Linked DNA regions of Homo sapiens: region 1 is linked to region 2. Evidence: promoter capture Hi-C in 16 types of primary human blood cells and fetal thymus (Javierre and others, 2016). All regions are on one chromosome and are shown on one strand. The core of a region is centred on a gene start or on the middle of the fragment in contact, and the rest is flanking DNA. Distances in the headings are between cores, read along the strand shown. Region 1 overlaps PPME1 (protein phosphatase methylesterase 1). Region 2 holds the start of RAB6A (RAB6A, member RAS oncogene family).

Region 1 (7,186 bases), core at 22-2,521, 410 kb after region 2:
TAATTATACATTCCTTAGATAAGCTTAATTAGAGCTCAGCTTCTCATCTTGGAGAAACAAGTTCTCTGAAGATTGAAGAACTGAATGAAGATACTGAGAGAAAAAAAAAGGAAAATCTGCTGATTAGAAGATTGTATAATTGTTAGTAATTTATCGTTTTTATTTTTTATTACTTTTCATTTTATTTTTTTTTAGAGACAGAGTCTCACTCTGTTGCCCAGGCTAGAGTGCAGTGGCACAATCTCGGCTCACTGCAACTTCCACCTCCCGGGCTCAAGTGATTCTTGTGCCTCAGCCTCCCAAGTAGCTGGGATTACAGGCATGCACCACCACGCCCGGCTAATTTTTGTATTTTTAGTAGAGAGGGGATTTCGCCATGTTGGCCAGGCTGGTCTTAAACTCCTGGCCTTAAGTGATCTGCCCCACTTGGCTTCCCAAAGTACTGGGATTATAGGAGTGAGCTACTGTGCCTGGACAACTTACCTTTTTAAAAAGATGCTTTGGTCTTCTTGGTTTAGGTTAACTGCTTATCCTGGAAAAGAAAGTTCTTTAGAAAGGCCTTTCTTTATGATAGTATTGTGAAGAGAAGAGCATATATTGGCGAATATTTGTGTGGTCCTCAAATGGCTTATTTTCCCGTATCTTTCTTTTCTACTTTATTGGTATATAAGCAGGCTTCATCTAAGTCTCATGGTAGTAATAATATAGATTCTCTTTCTCCTTAGAATCATAAAGCTGAGAGAAAGCATAGACATGGTCTCATTTCACCACTTCATGTAGTTGAGGAACCCAATATTCAGAGAGTTCTGTATTCTATAAGGGAATGTATTAATAAATGAGGGAACTGAGACTCAGATATTCCTAAGGTACCCTAGAAGCTTAGCGGTAGGGCCGTTAAGGACTAGGACTTGGGTCTCTTGACTGTGAGACCCATTGTGTATTTTGGAGTCATAATTGTCATCTGGGGATACTTATTTTGAGTTGTGTATCTTACTCATTTGCATATAATCTAGGATTCAGTCTTTTTCTTCAGTCGTAATTTATGAAGTCTCACACCAATTTCAAAGCATTCTTTATGTCTCCTTATGCTTACTTGCTTTTTTCTTAACTTCCATTCTTCCACTCTATCTATGTTACTCACAAGTTAGTCCTGTTCTCTTGATAGTCTCTTGTGTGGCTTACTCTTAACTATTTTTCATGATCTCTTGCCTTCAATTTCACTAAACATTATTTAGGCATGTTTGCATATTCAGGGTGCATATTCTGAGTTGGTGATTTTTCATGAGTTTCCATAATTCAGTTTTTCAGATTAGATTTAGTAATTCCAAAGTATTGTTGGATAATTTAATAATAGCAATTTTTAAAGTAAGTACTGTGTGCCAGACATTGTAATGGTAACTTTATGTTATTTAATGTGTCCACAGACCTGCATGGTGAATATTTTCCTGCATTGTGGGTAAAGACATTCAGACCCAGAGATTAAAAGTAACCCAACTAGTAGGTAGCAGAGCTAGGATTCAATCTAAGTTTAGTCTCTAGAATCCATTCACTTTTCAGTACACTAATATTTTCTCTTGGGTAAGGCCTGAAATCCTGGTGTCACTCTTCCTTTTAATAGATGCCAATGGATGTTGCCAAAAACAGTGGTTTTGAACTTCTTTATTAAAGCTTTTAGAGCTACTCTGACTAAAGTAGATTTGAGATCCCTATTTGCTTTGCACCCCTGGTGTGCTTGAGAGAAGTATCTTTTGAAAGTCACTGCTTTCGTATATACTATTACTATTAGAGGAACTATAAAATATTAAAGCCATTCATTATTCAACGTGTTTTTGGTTTATCAGTAGTTGTACTTTTTGGCCAGGTGTGGTGGCTCATGCCTGTAATCTCAGCACTTTGGGAGGCCGAGGCGGGTGGATCACCTGAGGTCGGGAGTTCAAGACCAGCCTGACCAACATAGAAAAACACCGTCTCTCCTAAAAATACAAAATTAGCTGGCGTGGTGGCACATGCCTGTAATCCCAGCTACTCAGGAGGCTGAGGCAGGAGAATCACTTGAACCTGGGAGGCGGAGGTTGTGGTGAGCCGAGATCGCGCCATTGCACTCCAGCCAGGGCAACAAGAGCGAAACTCCATCTCAAAAAAAAAAAAGTTCTACTTTTCTATTATTATCTCTTAAATTCCTTTTTTTTTCTTTTGCAAGAGATAGAGTCTTGCTGTGTTGCCCAGGCTGAAGTACAGTGGCTTTTCACAGGCATAATCTTGGTGCATTACAACCTCAAACTCGTGGGCTCAAGCAGTCTTCCCACTTCATCCTCTTGAGTAGGTAGGACTGAGGATACATGCTAGCATGCCCAGCTCTGTAGTGATTTAACTGACATGTATATAGTAGTCCCTTTTTATATTCTATGAGGTAAACTAGGGCAGGAGTTAATATTTTCTTTTAATAAATGAGAAAACTGAAATGTTCATTGACTTGCCTAAGATCACAGAATCATTATGTGGCAGGAACAACATTCAAACCCAGGACTTCGTATTTTTAGTCCATTGTTCTTTCTATAGCTTGCATTGAAGGGTTTGATATTTGAAGTGACAAAGATCTAAGTTTGAAGCCCAACTTAGGTATTTACATTGGTCGAGTCATTTAACTTCTCATAGTCTATTTTCTTATCTCTAAAATGAGAATACTTCTGCTTACCTGAGAGTGCTGTGAGAATAAGATAATACATAAAAAGCACTTATAGTTCCTGACACTGACACATAAGCTCTTAAAGAATGATAGCTAGTAGATAATTATACATTGAGAACTGTGAAGAAGGTTCATAGTTTATGTGGAAGCTCTCCTTTCAGTTTCTTATGTTATCAGCTTTTTTGTCCCCACAAGCTGTATGTTTATTCATATCTGATTAGATAGTCTTTCATCCATCTTCTTAAATTTATTATGGATATCAGGCCTCTTAGGAAGGCTTTAATGAGCTATTCACACAGATGGGGAAATAAAGGGCAAAGTGAAGTGATTTGCTCAAGGTCACAAATTGAGTTACTAAAATAATCAAATCCCAGTATTTCTGTTTTTTTTTTTATTTTTTCATTAGATTTTTAAAAAGTTAAATTTATATGCCATAGAATTCACTCTTTTAAATGTACAATTCAGTGATTTTTGGTATATTCACTCAGTTGTACAATTACCACCACTAATTGCAGAACATTTTCATCCTCCCATAAACTCGTTACTCATTAGCATCTTCCCTTCCTCCCAGCATGTATTGCTTCTGGATCTTGAGTCACAGAAAGGCTTTTCCTTTTTTTGGGTTATAAAGGAATCATTTATATTTTTTCCTGGTACCTGTGTAGTGTCCTTTTTTTTTTTTTTTTTTTTTTTGAGACAGAGTCTTGCTCTGTCACCGAGGCCGGATGGAGTGCAGTGGTGTGATCTTGGCCCACTACAACCTCCACTTCCCGGGTTCAGGCGATTCTCCTGCTTCAGCCTCCCAAGTAGCTGGGATTACAGGCATGCACCACCACACCCAGCTAATTTTTGTATTTTTAGTAGAGACGGGGTTTCATTATGTTGGCCAGGCTGCTCTTGAACTCCTGGCCCCAGGTAATCCACCCACCTCAGCCTTCCAAAGTGCTGGGATTACAGGCATGAGCCAATTTTTTTTTAATCCATTTGAAGTTTATCTTGATATGCAAAGTGAGGAAAAGAAGACATTTTATTTTTATCCAAAGGCTATCTAGTTGTTTTCATCATTTATTAAATTTTTTAGTCCTTTACCCATTACGTAAATTTCACTACAATAAAGAAATAGTCCTGGCCAGGCTCAGTGGTCCATGCCTGTAATCCCAGCACTTTGGGAGGCCAAGGCATGTGGACCACTTGAGCTTGGGAGTTGGAGACCAGCCTGGACAACATGGTGAAACCTCTTCTCTACAAAAATCACAAAAATTTAGCTGGGTGTGGTGGTGTGTGCCTGTAGTCCCAGCTACTCTGGAGGATCATTTGAGTCCGGGAAGCAAAGGTTGCAGTGAGCCAAGATAATGCCCCTGCACTCTAGCCTGGGACACAGAGTGAGACTTTGTCTCAAAAAAAAAAAAAAAAGTCTTCTTTCTCACTGATTAAAATGACACCTTTGTCATATGCCAAATTTCTATATAAATCCGGGTCTGTGGAGTTTCTTTTACGTGCCACTACTGTACTTTTAATTAGAGGATTTATTAATATGTTTTGATGGGTGGTAGAGGTTGTTTACCCCTCATTCATTTTGAGGATTTTCGTGGTTCCTCTTGTTTTTTTCTCACAAATAAACTTTCTAATCCCATAGACTAGTGCCAGAAAAAAATCCTGATAGTATTTTTATTGGGATTACATTAAATACAAACATTAATTTAGAATAAACGTTTTTATGATGTTGAATGTTCCTTGAAGAAATATGGTATCTTTCAATTTGTATGAATCCCTTTTGAAGGAAATATATTTCAGATTCCAAGTATTGACCTAAGTTATATTCAATCTAATATTACTTAAATTCAATAGTACTCTTAAATAATTGTGAAACTCAGTAGATTTACTCTTTAAATACAATTAAGTCTACAAAAATCCCCAAACTCACATTAGCAACATTATATTGATGTGAAACAATCTAATTTGCTGTTATCAGTTTACTGTAGTTTAAACTACAAGGACATTTATTATTGATAGGATGTTCCAGGGTTCATTCAGTTGCTAAACAATTTCATTCAGGACCCAGGCTGTTTGCATCCTTTCTTTTGCCATCCTTAGAATGGTGGCTTTTCCTTCTCTTGCTTGTCACCTTATGGTTGCAGGATGGCTGCTGCCACTCTACTTCTATCTTATCTTTACAAATAAAAAGAAGCGGGGGCCAAAGTCCTTTCCTAGCTAAGCTTGTCTTTTAATTTTTTCCCAGAAATGCAAGCTCCCCAACAGATTTTTCCCTTAAGTCTTATTGTCCAGAACTGTTCACATACCCATCCTAAAACCAATCACTGGCAGTAGGGAATGGGATTAACTATGACTGGTTTAGACCAATTTTGATTCATTCCCTTGGACTGGAGGAGAGACAACAAGAGATCTCCACTAGCTGCTCAAACAAAAGTATTACAATTCTGTTAGGGAAGAGAGAGTGGGAAGTGGGCAGGTAATGTCTGGAATAGAGAATAAACAGCATCTGGCCCAAATCCTGAGGTTAACAAGTGGAGAAGCCTAATCTTCTGATTTCAACTTCCCTACTGTTTTCATTGCAGTGTAAGTATAGGAAGTAATAATCCCACCCCCAACTCCCCTGCCCCTTATTGCCAGATTTCAGCCCCTTGACATTCATTTCAGAACTTCTGAGTAAAAGTCCGTTTTTCCATTGTTGCTTATTGCCAGCAAATCTATTTCTTCTTAGTATCTCCAAAATTGGGTAATTTGCTCTTTTGTTTTATTTTAAACCTAATGAGCCTTCCATGTTATGCTACTTGATGTCAGATTTCAGAAAACATCTCTAGTTGTTTGGGAAAGACTGTTTCCTTCAAACTACAAAATAGTTTTTTTTTTTTTAAGAGAAGAAACTTTTAATTAATAGTTCTATTAAGAGGGTGGCCACACTTAGATATTCTTCAAATACAATATTGATTACAAGTTACAGGTATATTCTACCAATATATTTTGAAGATTGAATAAGAGATTATATTGAAAATTCCAATCATTTCAAACCACACCGGAAGACCGAAGTTGTTTACTTATCAGTCCTTTTCCTATATGCTTCTGTGTGTGTTTTTGGCCATAGACTTTTTCCAGGTTTAAGTAGACATCCTCTCTCTGCCACTAACAAGTTGTATGACTCTGGTCAGTTTCTCTTCCTGGGCCTCGTTATCATGGAAAGAAAGAACGCTTTGGCACCTGACGTACTTGTTTAAATCCAAGCTCCCCAGCCTGGGCAACATAGGAAAAACTTGTCTGTACTAAAACAAAACAAAACAACCAGGCATGGTGGTGCGCACCTGTTAGTCCCAGCTACTTGAGAGACTGAGATGGGAGAATCACTTGAGCCTGGGAGTTTGAGGTTGCAGTGTGCTGTGATCGTGCCACTGCACTCCAGCCTGGGAGACAGAATGAGACCCTATCTCTAAAAATAGTAATTATAAAATAAAAAGTCAAATCCAAGCTCCGGTGCTACCAAAAATGGCTCTGGGAAAGTTATTTAGTATTTCTGAGTCACCTTAAAATGAGAATACTTTAATGGTACTGTTCAAAACCATGCTTGGTACGTAATAAACACCTAGTTGTTTCCTTTCATAAAGTAAGATTTGAGTTAGATGATCTCTAACAGCATGATTCATGATGTAGTTTTTAGAATCCTGAAGTCTGCTGCTTAATGGCATGCCTTGGAGTAAGGAACACTTCAGACCTACCACAACCCTCAGCCAGCCATCTGGTTGCTTTCTTTTCATTCTCTTCAAAGTACTGCTAATAAGGACATTTTAAAAACAGTGGTGCCTTGATTTAAATAGCTGGCTGCAATTAAACTTCAGTATTTAGCCTCCACTACCAGACTCCTAGACTTTGACAGAATTTGTGACAACAAGTGATTAAGACTGCTACTGTGCCCATTCATGACTCATCAATAACTCTCTTAACAGACTTAAGCAGCCTAGATGTTGATGTGTTATTCCTATTTAGATTTGAGACATTCATGTAAAAACATACAACTTACATTTCTTGGTTATTGTTCTCTAGGCAAGGAAGGTTTTTCCTCCTTCCCTTTCTCCCCTTTCTCTCCTTCCTCCTGGCTTTCCTTAGGATTTGATCATATAATTTTGTTGGTTTTGGTCATTATCTCCTAGTAGGCATATCACATTGTAGACAAGCAGAACATTCTCTATTCTCCTTAGTCCTCTGAATTGTAATTATTGGTCAACTGTGTATTCCTCAAAACTGTTGAGGTTCATAAGGGTAGGAATTGTGTCTGAATTTTGCTGGTGCTTAGAATGCTGTCTCCTTTAGTGCTAACTGAACGAGAAACCCAAATCCTGGCCTATTTAACCCCGTTCTATAAGAACAACGTTATTTCCCCATCAGTTCCCTTAAGATGGTATAACTAGGGCTATACTGCCTTTCTCCTAAAAGCGGTTATACTTCATAGAATAATAGAATCTCTATTTCAATACCAGCTTTTAGGTAAAA
Region 2 (7,495 bases), core at 3,003-5,502:
CGCCACCACGCCCAGCTAGTTTTTGGATTTTTAGTAGAGATGGGATTTTGCCATGTTGGCCAGGCTGGTCTTGAACTCCTGACCTCAGGTGATTTGCCTGCCTCGGACTCCTAAAGTGCTGGGATTACAGGCGTGAGCCACCACGCCCAGCCAAACATTCCTTTATTAAACCGTAAGAATTTATCTAAGGTTAAGATTGATGTCATTAACTCAATCTGCTTCATGTACTGACACAATTCATTTTCACTATAGAGCGTAGTATCTTAAATATACATACATATATATATATATATATATATATATATATATTTTTTTTTTTTTTTTTTTTTTTTTTTTTCTTGAGACAGAGTCTCACTCTGTCACCCAGGCTGCAGTGCAATGGCATGATCTCAGCTCACTGCACCCTCCGCCTCTCAGGTTCAAGCGATTCTCCTGCCTCAGCCTCCTGAGTAGCTGGGATTACAGGCTCCCACCCGCCATCATACCTGGATAATTTTTGTATTTTTGTAGAGACCGGGCCATGGGGTGGGGGGGAGCCGGGGACTCCACCATGTTAGCCAGGCTGGTCTTGAACTGCTGACCTCAGATGATTCACCTATCTCAGCCTCCCAAAGTGCTGGGATTACAGGCATGAACCACCGCACCCAGCCTAGTATCTTAAATTTTTGATAAGCCAAATAAAACCTAATTTCAAATCAGTTCCATGAGCACATCATTGGTATAATTTGAATACTTTTCATGCGTTACATTAATAGCAAATAATTTAACAACTTTAATAAAGGAAGACGAATTTTGCTCAACTCAAAAAAAAGTACAAAATTCAGGTCAGTCCTATTTTTTGAATGAAATGGTTGGGCCTCTAAACGATTGGTTTCTCTACCCCCTTAAGTATCTGATATATTCCTGTATACAATCAAATGATGTAAGTTTTAAGTGTTATTGTTAAACTATCAATTGCGTAACCATGTCAAAGAGTGTAACATAGGCTACTAGCTTTCGTTACTACTAGATTCAGCCATCATTCATTTACCCAACATGTCTGAACAGCTACTATGAGCCTGGCTCTACGCTAGGCAATGGGGACACACTGAACAAAAAAGAATAGTTTTTATCTTCATGGGAGTTGCATTCTTCTGTGGGAAATAAAAACAAACACATAAAAAATAAGATAATTGTAAATGTGGTAAATGCTATTAAGAAGAAACAAGGCTTTGCCATAGATTACAGTCTTTGAAAGCTGAATTGTGGAATTCTAACAGACCTAAAAATAAATAATTCATGAAGAGTTACATCAAAAGGACATGGAGTCTACAGACTTCTAACGCATAAGAAAACTATAGACACTGACCATGAAAACAGAGATCAATCTTTCATTGTCAAAGCTAATGAATGGCATTACTTGACAATATAGTAACCTCAAAAGATAATTAACTTCACATCCTGAATTGAATGCTGAAACAGAAAAAGGACATTAGGTTAAAACTAAAAATCTAAATAAACTATGGACTTAAGTTAATAATAACATATCAATATTAGTTCATTAATTGTTAACAAATGTGCCATACTAATGCAAGATGTTGATAACAGGGGAAACTAGATGTGTGGGTATATGGGAACTCTACACTATCTTTTCAATTTTTCTGTAAGTCTAAAACTGTTCTAAAAAATGAAGTCTATTAAAAAAAATCTAACCAGGCTTCAGTAATGGAGGGGGGAGGGTAGTAGAGGCTTAAACAAGGTACGAAATTAGAAGCCATAAAACTCTCCATTATGCATTAGAACATACACAAATACTCAAGAAATTCAAAGGAAACCTGAAGATACTTAGGAAGTTAAGCACTCCATTCATGCTAAAACCTTTTTAGGCAGGAAGATGAATAGGTTTTTTCATGCAAACTAAATAGCTGTGCATCACAACATAAGGAAGGCAATAATATCCTTAGAATGCACAATAAGCACTTTGGATCCTTTTTATCAATAATAACCAATAAACTATATTTTATGTTTGGGAACTATCCTGATATTGACACAGAAAAGCTGGACTAGAAGCAACTCCATAGGTTCTACCAAGTTACTCACCTAAAGACACAAGTTTATACTTACTTCAGGAAAATATATAAGCAAAAAGGAGGGAGATTGTATTTTTCCCCCCAAAAGGGAGGAGGGGAAGATAATCTACACATGAAAGGAGAAAAATGATTTCCCAGTTCTAACTGGAGGCAATTTTGCAAGAGTATTAACCTCTGTGATGGCATACAAATTAGTATAAATAGTTCAAAGTAGTAATAAAAGCTACGAATTTATATCACTTACATGCCTTCCAGTCAAAACAAATAACTAATGTTTTCTATAACCTCACCTAAAACACCTAGTAGGTACTCAATGTTTGATGACTCAGAACTAATCTCTCAATGTCTGAATTTTAAAGATGGGCATGCAAAGTATGAGAAAAACAAAGGAGGGTAATCATCTCTGAATTGTCGAGTGTCAAGTTTGTATAATACAGCATAAAACTGGAATTACTACAAGAAGTAATCGTAGATACAACCATCACAAAATTAGGATCTAGTATCTAATACAAAAGTACAGTGACAGCAGAACCTGACCAGGTAAATGACATAACAATTTCACTCATCAGACAGTACAGAATATTAAGCATAAAAGAATTATTTAGCCCAAATGGTATTTAAATCTAATTTAGGTAACTAGATGATGAGTCTGTTCCTACTCTACTCCATTTTCCAAAGGAAATCCGACAAAACAAAGATGTTTGTTATTCCAAGCCTTCTCTCACATGAATCCTCAATATATCATTGGAAAATACTCAAGAAGGAATGAATAATTAACATTTCCCCAGTAATTCCCTTTTGTACCACCATGAGACTCAGACGCTGCTTCATGTTGAAAAGAGAAAAAGGGGAGGTGAGATGAGAAAAATTCCAAGTAAAATGATCATGACATAGCATCTGGCAGAGATTGAAAAATCATCAACATTGCCAAAAGAATTGTCAGTGATGAAAGTCAAGAGAACAAAATGAGGTTTTCCGACAAGCCACAGCCCCATCTAACCTAAGGGGCAAAAATCTCCACTGCCGACGCTACCCCTTTCACCCCCAACCACCCCATGCTCAAGTCGTCTCCAATTCAGATGTTTCCTCTATGGCCCAGACTAATTTCCCACCCAGGTGAAAATCATTTAATTTTTTCTACTACCACCCCTTCCCACCTTCCACGACATCAGCACTTCGCAGGGCCAAGCCTCTGGGGAAAACAACGCCCAGATCCCACCCTCCTTGGCCAAGGTTGAAGAGGGCCCGCTCTCGGGAGTGGGGCTTCCCTGAGTGGGCCTCACAGAGCTGAGGAACTGGGAAAAGAGCAAGGAATAAGGGTGGGGCTCAAGAAAGGGGGCCGGGGTACGGGCAATGACCGAGACCGGAGGAAGAAAGGGATGGACAAGAGGCTGGGCGGGGTGAGGTCTGGGGAGGGAGGGCAGATCGACCGGAGATGGCCGGACTGCGGGGAACGGAGCCGGGGAGTCGAGGATTGAAGAACCCGGGGAACAGGGTAAAAACTCGGCCACTGGCGAAGAGCCAGTGGCACCGGGGGGCACATCGGGAAGGGCTGCGGTGGCAACGAGCGCGGACGCGAGGCGGGCAGGGAGCCTCCGCGGACGGAAGGGCCGCACCGGGGGCGGTGCGGGGACGCTGCGGCCAGCTGCCAGGAGTAGGGGAGCCACGCACTCACCGCTTTGCTCCCCCAGGAACACCAGCTTGAATTTCCTCAGCGGATTCCCGAAGTCTCCGCCCGTGGACATTGTGGAACTAGAGGAGCGGCCGCCGCCTCAGCCTAGAGACCTCCCGGACCGATGCTGCTCCAGCCAGCTGACGAAAAAGGCGAGCGGAAGGGCGGGCACCGAGCTCTCTCGGCCCCTGCAAGGCCCGGTGGAGGAGCCCGGCTGGAGGGCAGCAGGACTCTCCACAGACTGGCAGCCGCCGCCGCCTCCCGGCAGAGTAGCCTAGCACCGAGCGAGGCCCGCGGCTGGGAAGGGAAGGAGGGCGGTGTCGGCAGGAGCCAGGGGTGTCCTCTGGCTTCCCAAAGCTAGGGCCGTTCCCTCCTTCCGCACTCGGCTCCCAGACCTGGGGAAGAGAAGCTGAGGGTGGCGGAGCCGGAACCGCAGACGTATCTGGGACCTCTCACGCGCAGCGCCTGAGCTTCCACAGCTGCCGCCGCCGCCGCAGCCCAACCTGCTGAGTGCGCGAGCCTCTGGAGCGGCGCGGGGCGAGCCCGGGCGCGAGCCTGCGGCCCCGCCGGCCGCTGGCGTGCGTGCGTGCGTGCATGCGTGCGCGCCACCGCCATCGCCATCGCCTTCCTGGTTTGGACAGCTCTACCGGCTCCTCCCGCACGGCGGCGACGGGGCAGGTTAGGTTTCCACTGGCGTCAAAAGAAGCCAGGAGGAGGCGGGGCAAGCCAGGGATAAGTTAGTGGGAGGCTGGAGCCCTTACGTCACTTACATAATGAGCCAATCGGAAGGGGCTGAGGGCGAGCCCACACGCGAGTGAGGTGGCAGCGTGAGAGCGCGCGCAGCCCTCGAGCTGTGGAAAGCGGAGCACTGTGGCGGCCATAAGAAGTGTGGCGCCTCTCAGCCTGAGGGGAGGGGAAGGAAAGAAAGGGGAGGGGGAGAAGGGTGGGGCGGAGGCGGGGCCGGGACAAAGGTGGAATATGATCCCCCAAAAAGTGTGGGTGGGGTCCTATAGCCTTAAAATTTGTAATGGGAGCCTCTTTCCTGAGCCCTCAGCCGTGCCTCACAGTCCTCAGATCCCTTCTTCACCATTGCACACACCCCACCTTCTCCATCCTCTCATCATAATTCCTCACAGGCATCTTACTAAATAACATTCTCCTCCATTGCTCCCAGGAATGTTATAACTGCCAGAATCATGGCCTCCCAATTTTGCAGATGAGGAAACTGAAGCTTAGAGGGAGTAAATGACTTGCAAAATCCATAAAGCGGGCTGGGCGCGGTGGCCCACGGCTGTAATCCCAGCACTTTGGGAGGCGGAGGCGAGTGGATCACGAGGTCAAGAGATCGAGACCATCCTGGCCAACATGGTGAAACCCTGTCTCTACTAAAAATGCAAAAATTAGCTGGGGGTGGTGGCGCGCGCCTGTAGTCCCAGCTACTCGGGAAGCTGAGGCAGGAGAATCGCTTGAACCCGGGAGGCGGAGGTTGCAGTGAGCCGAGATCACACCACTGCACTCCAGCCTGGCGACAGAGCGAGACTCCATCTCAACAGAAAAAAAAAAAAAAAAAAAAAAAAAAAGCCGGGCGTGGTGGCTCATCCCTGTAATCCCAGCACTTTGGAAGGCTGAGTTGGGTGGATCACCTGACGTCAGGAGTTCCAGACCAGCCTTGGCCAACATGATGAAACCCCATCTCTACTAAAAATACAAAAAATTAACGTGGTGTGGTGGCGGGTGCCTGTAATCCCAGCTACTTGGGAGGCTGAGGCAGGAGAATCGCTTGAACACGGGAGGCGGAGGTTGCAGTGAGCCAAGGTCACACCATTGCACTCCAGTCTGGGCAACAAGAGCGAGACTCTGTCTCCAAAAAAAAAAATCCATAAAGCAGCTGGGCGCGGTGGCTCACGTCTGTAATCCCAGCACTTTGGGAGGCCGAGGCGGTAGAATCGCTTGAGCCCAGGAGTTCGAGACCAGGCTGGGCAACAAAGCAAGACACTATCTCTACAAAAAATAAAATAGCCGAATATCGTGGTGTGCTCCTGTAGTTCCGGCTACTCAGGAGCCTGAAGCAGAAGGATTGCTTGAGTCCAGGAGTTGGAGGCTGAGGTATGGCACCACTACACTGAAATCTGGGTGACAGAACAAGTCCCTGTCTTAAAAAAAAAAAAAAAAAACAAAAAAACTTTCTAAGTGAATAATAAAAAATATGTCCTTACATTTGTGTCTATACACAAATGTATATCATTTGTGTATATCATTCACAAAACATTTATGTACTTTTTCTCATTATTGGGGAGTTATTTGCTTAGCTGTAGAAATGACAGGATTGAAAAAGTGCCTTCTCAGGCCCAGGGATGAATTGCTGACCTAGAATAAATTACAGGGAAGAACCAAAGTTCTTAAAATATCATCTATTCTGGCCTATCAAGACAACAGCTATATCCTCAAACCATCTCTATCAAAATTTACTCCCTTCTGGTTCCTCTCCCAGCCATGTGCAGGTAGAACATGCATCTAAAATAAAATGGTAAAAACCTGGCTTGTAGCATGGACATTTGATTTTACAAGTAGTTTGTCAGATCTAATAGGGTCCTCTCCACCATTAACCCAGAACCCTGGCACATACAAAGAGCAGCTTAAACCAAGAAACTTTTTAAAAAGATTATGCAAACAAAAGTGAGTAGCTATTTTCTTTCTGATGGGTACCAAGTTTTCATTATGCTTCCTGAAATAGACTTTAAAGTAACATCTGAGGATTGGAACTATAATTACTTTGTACTTCCTACAGAACTTTATGAATCAGTCCTCCCTGCTGCTTTGGTCTCTGTAGTCACCTAGACAGGTGGTACTGTTCCCTGTCATTTTGAAGGGCCTTATGGTCTAGTCCACCTCTTACCTAAAATGTTTTAATGTTTTAAGCTTTCATTTTGCATTGACACATACACAGCCTCATTATCCTCTGAAGCTGCCTTCATATTACCAAGTACTCTGTGTAAGTTTTGTCTTCAGAGACTTTATGGCCTAAACATTGCATATTAAGTGCTGTAGGGTATAGCAAATGGAAAAATTACTCAGGAGAAAGAGGAATTAGAGAGGCCCTTTTCAAGAGTATTTTCACCAACATTTTCACCTTCATGATTTCCTACGCTCACTTCTCTTTACTGCAAACACTCTTCCCCTCCCTTCCCCACTCTTCCCCAATTCCTACTCATCCTTCAGTTAAAGAAATTGTCTTTTTTTTTTTTTCTTTTAAATCACTTACCACTTAAAGAAGTTGTCTTTGTCCATTCAGGCTGCTATAACAGAATACCATGACTGGGTGGCTTAAACAACAAATGTTTATTTCTCACAGCTGGAGACTGGAAAGTCCAAGAGCAAGGTACCAGAAGATACTGTGTCTGGTGAAGGCCCACTTCCTGGTTCATAGACAACCATCTTCTCACTGTGCCCTCACATGGCAGAAAGAGAGCAAGAAAGCTCTCTGGGCTCCCTCTTACAAGGGAACTAATCCCATTTATGAGCACTCCACCCTCATGACCTAATCACCTCCCTAGGGTCCCACCTACTAATACCATCACATTGGGGACTATAGTTTCAACATATGAATTTTGGGGAGACACAAACATTCAGTCTACCACACAAGTCTTGCTCCCATCTGCTCCCATCCCCACTAACAGTATAAGTACCTTTGCCTGTCCTATTGTATCCTATTCTTAATTGCTGTTCATTGTCAGTGTTCCCTACTTGACTGTAA

The links. The method cuts DNA at HindIII sites, captures the fragments that hold promoters and counts their contacts. A CHiCAGO score of 5 or more calls a contact.
Region 1: a contact is called between a fragment that was not itself captured here and the fragment with the promoter of RAB6A in region 2, in 2 of 17 cell types (non-activated CD4 T cells and total CD4 T cells). The highest score is 6.2, in non-activated CD4 T cells.

Annotation. Positions count from the first base shown.
Region 1 is chr11:74,173,366-74,180,551 of GRCh38, forward strand. All of the region lies in intron 1 of PPME1 (protein phosphatase methylesterase 1), which reads left to right. Among named protein-coding and RNA genes, the nearest start is that of PPME1, 5.7 kb to the left of the region's middle. The HindIII fragment of the contact is 790 bases long and covers 877-1,666 here.
Region 2 is chr11:73,756,822-73,764,316 of GRCh38, forward strand. RAB6A (RAB6A, member RAS oncogene family) reads right to left here and starts at 4,253. Exons shown (of 8, transcript NM_198896.2): 1 at 3,745-4,253. The coding sequence starts at 3,814. It overlaps LOC124902711 (a long non-coding RNA gene), which reads left to right and starts at 4,337. Exons shown (of 2, transcript XR_007062775.1): 1 at 4,337-4,419; 2 at 4,916-6,279. RefSeq lists an enhancer at 3,404-3,904 and silencers at 4,201-4,510, 4,671-4,860. The HindIII fragment of the contact is 8,881 bases long and covers 1-4,970 here.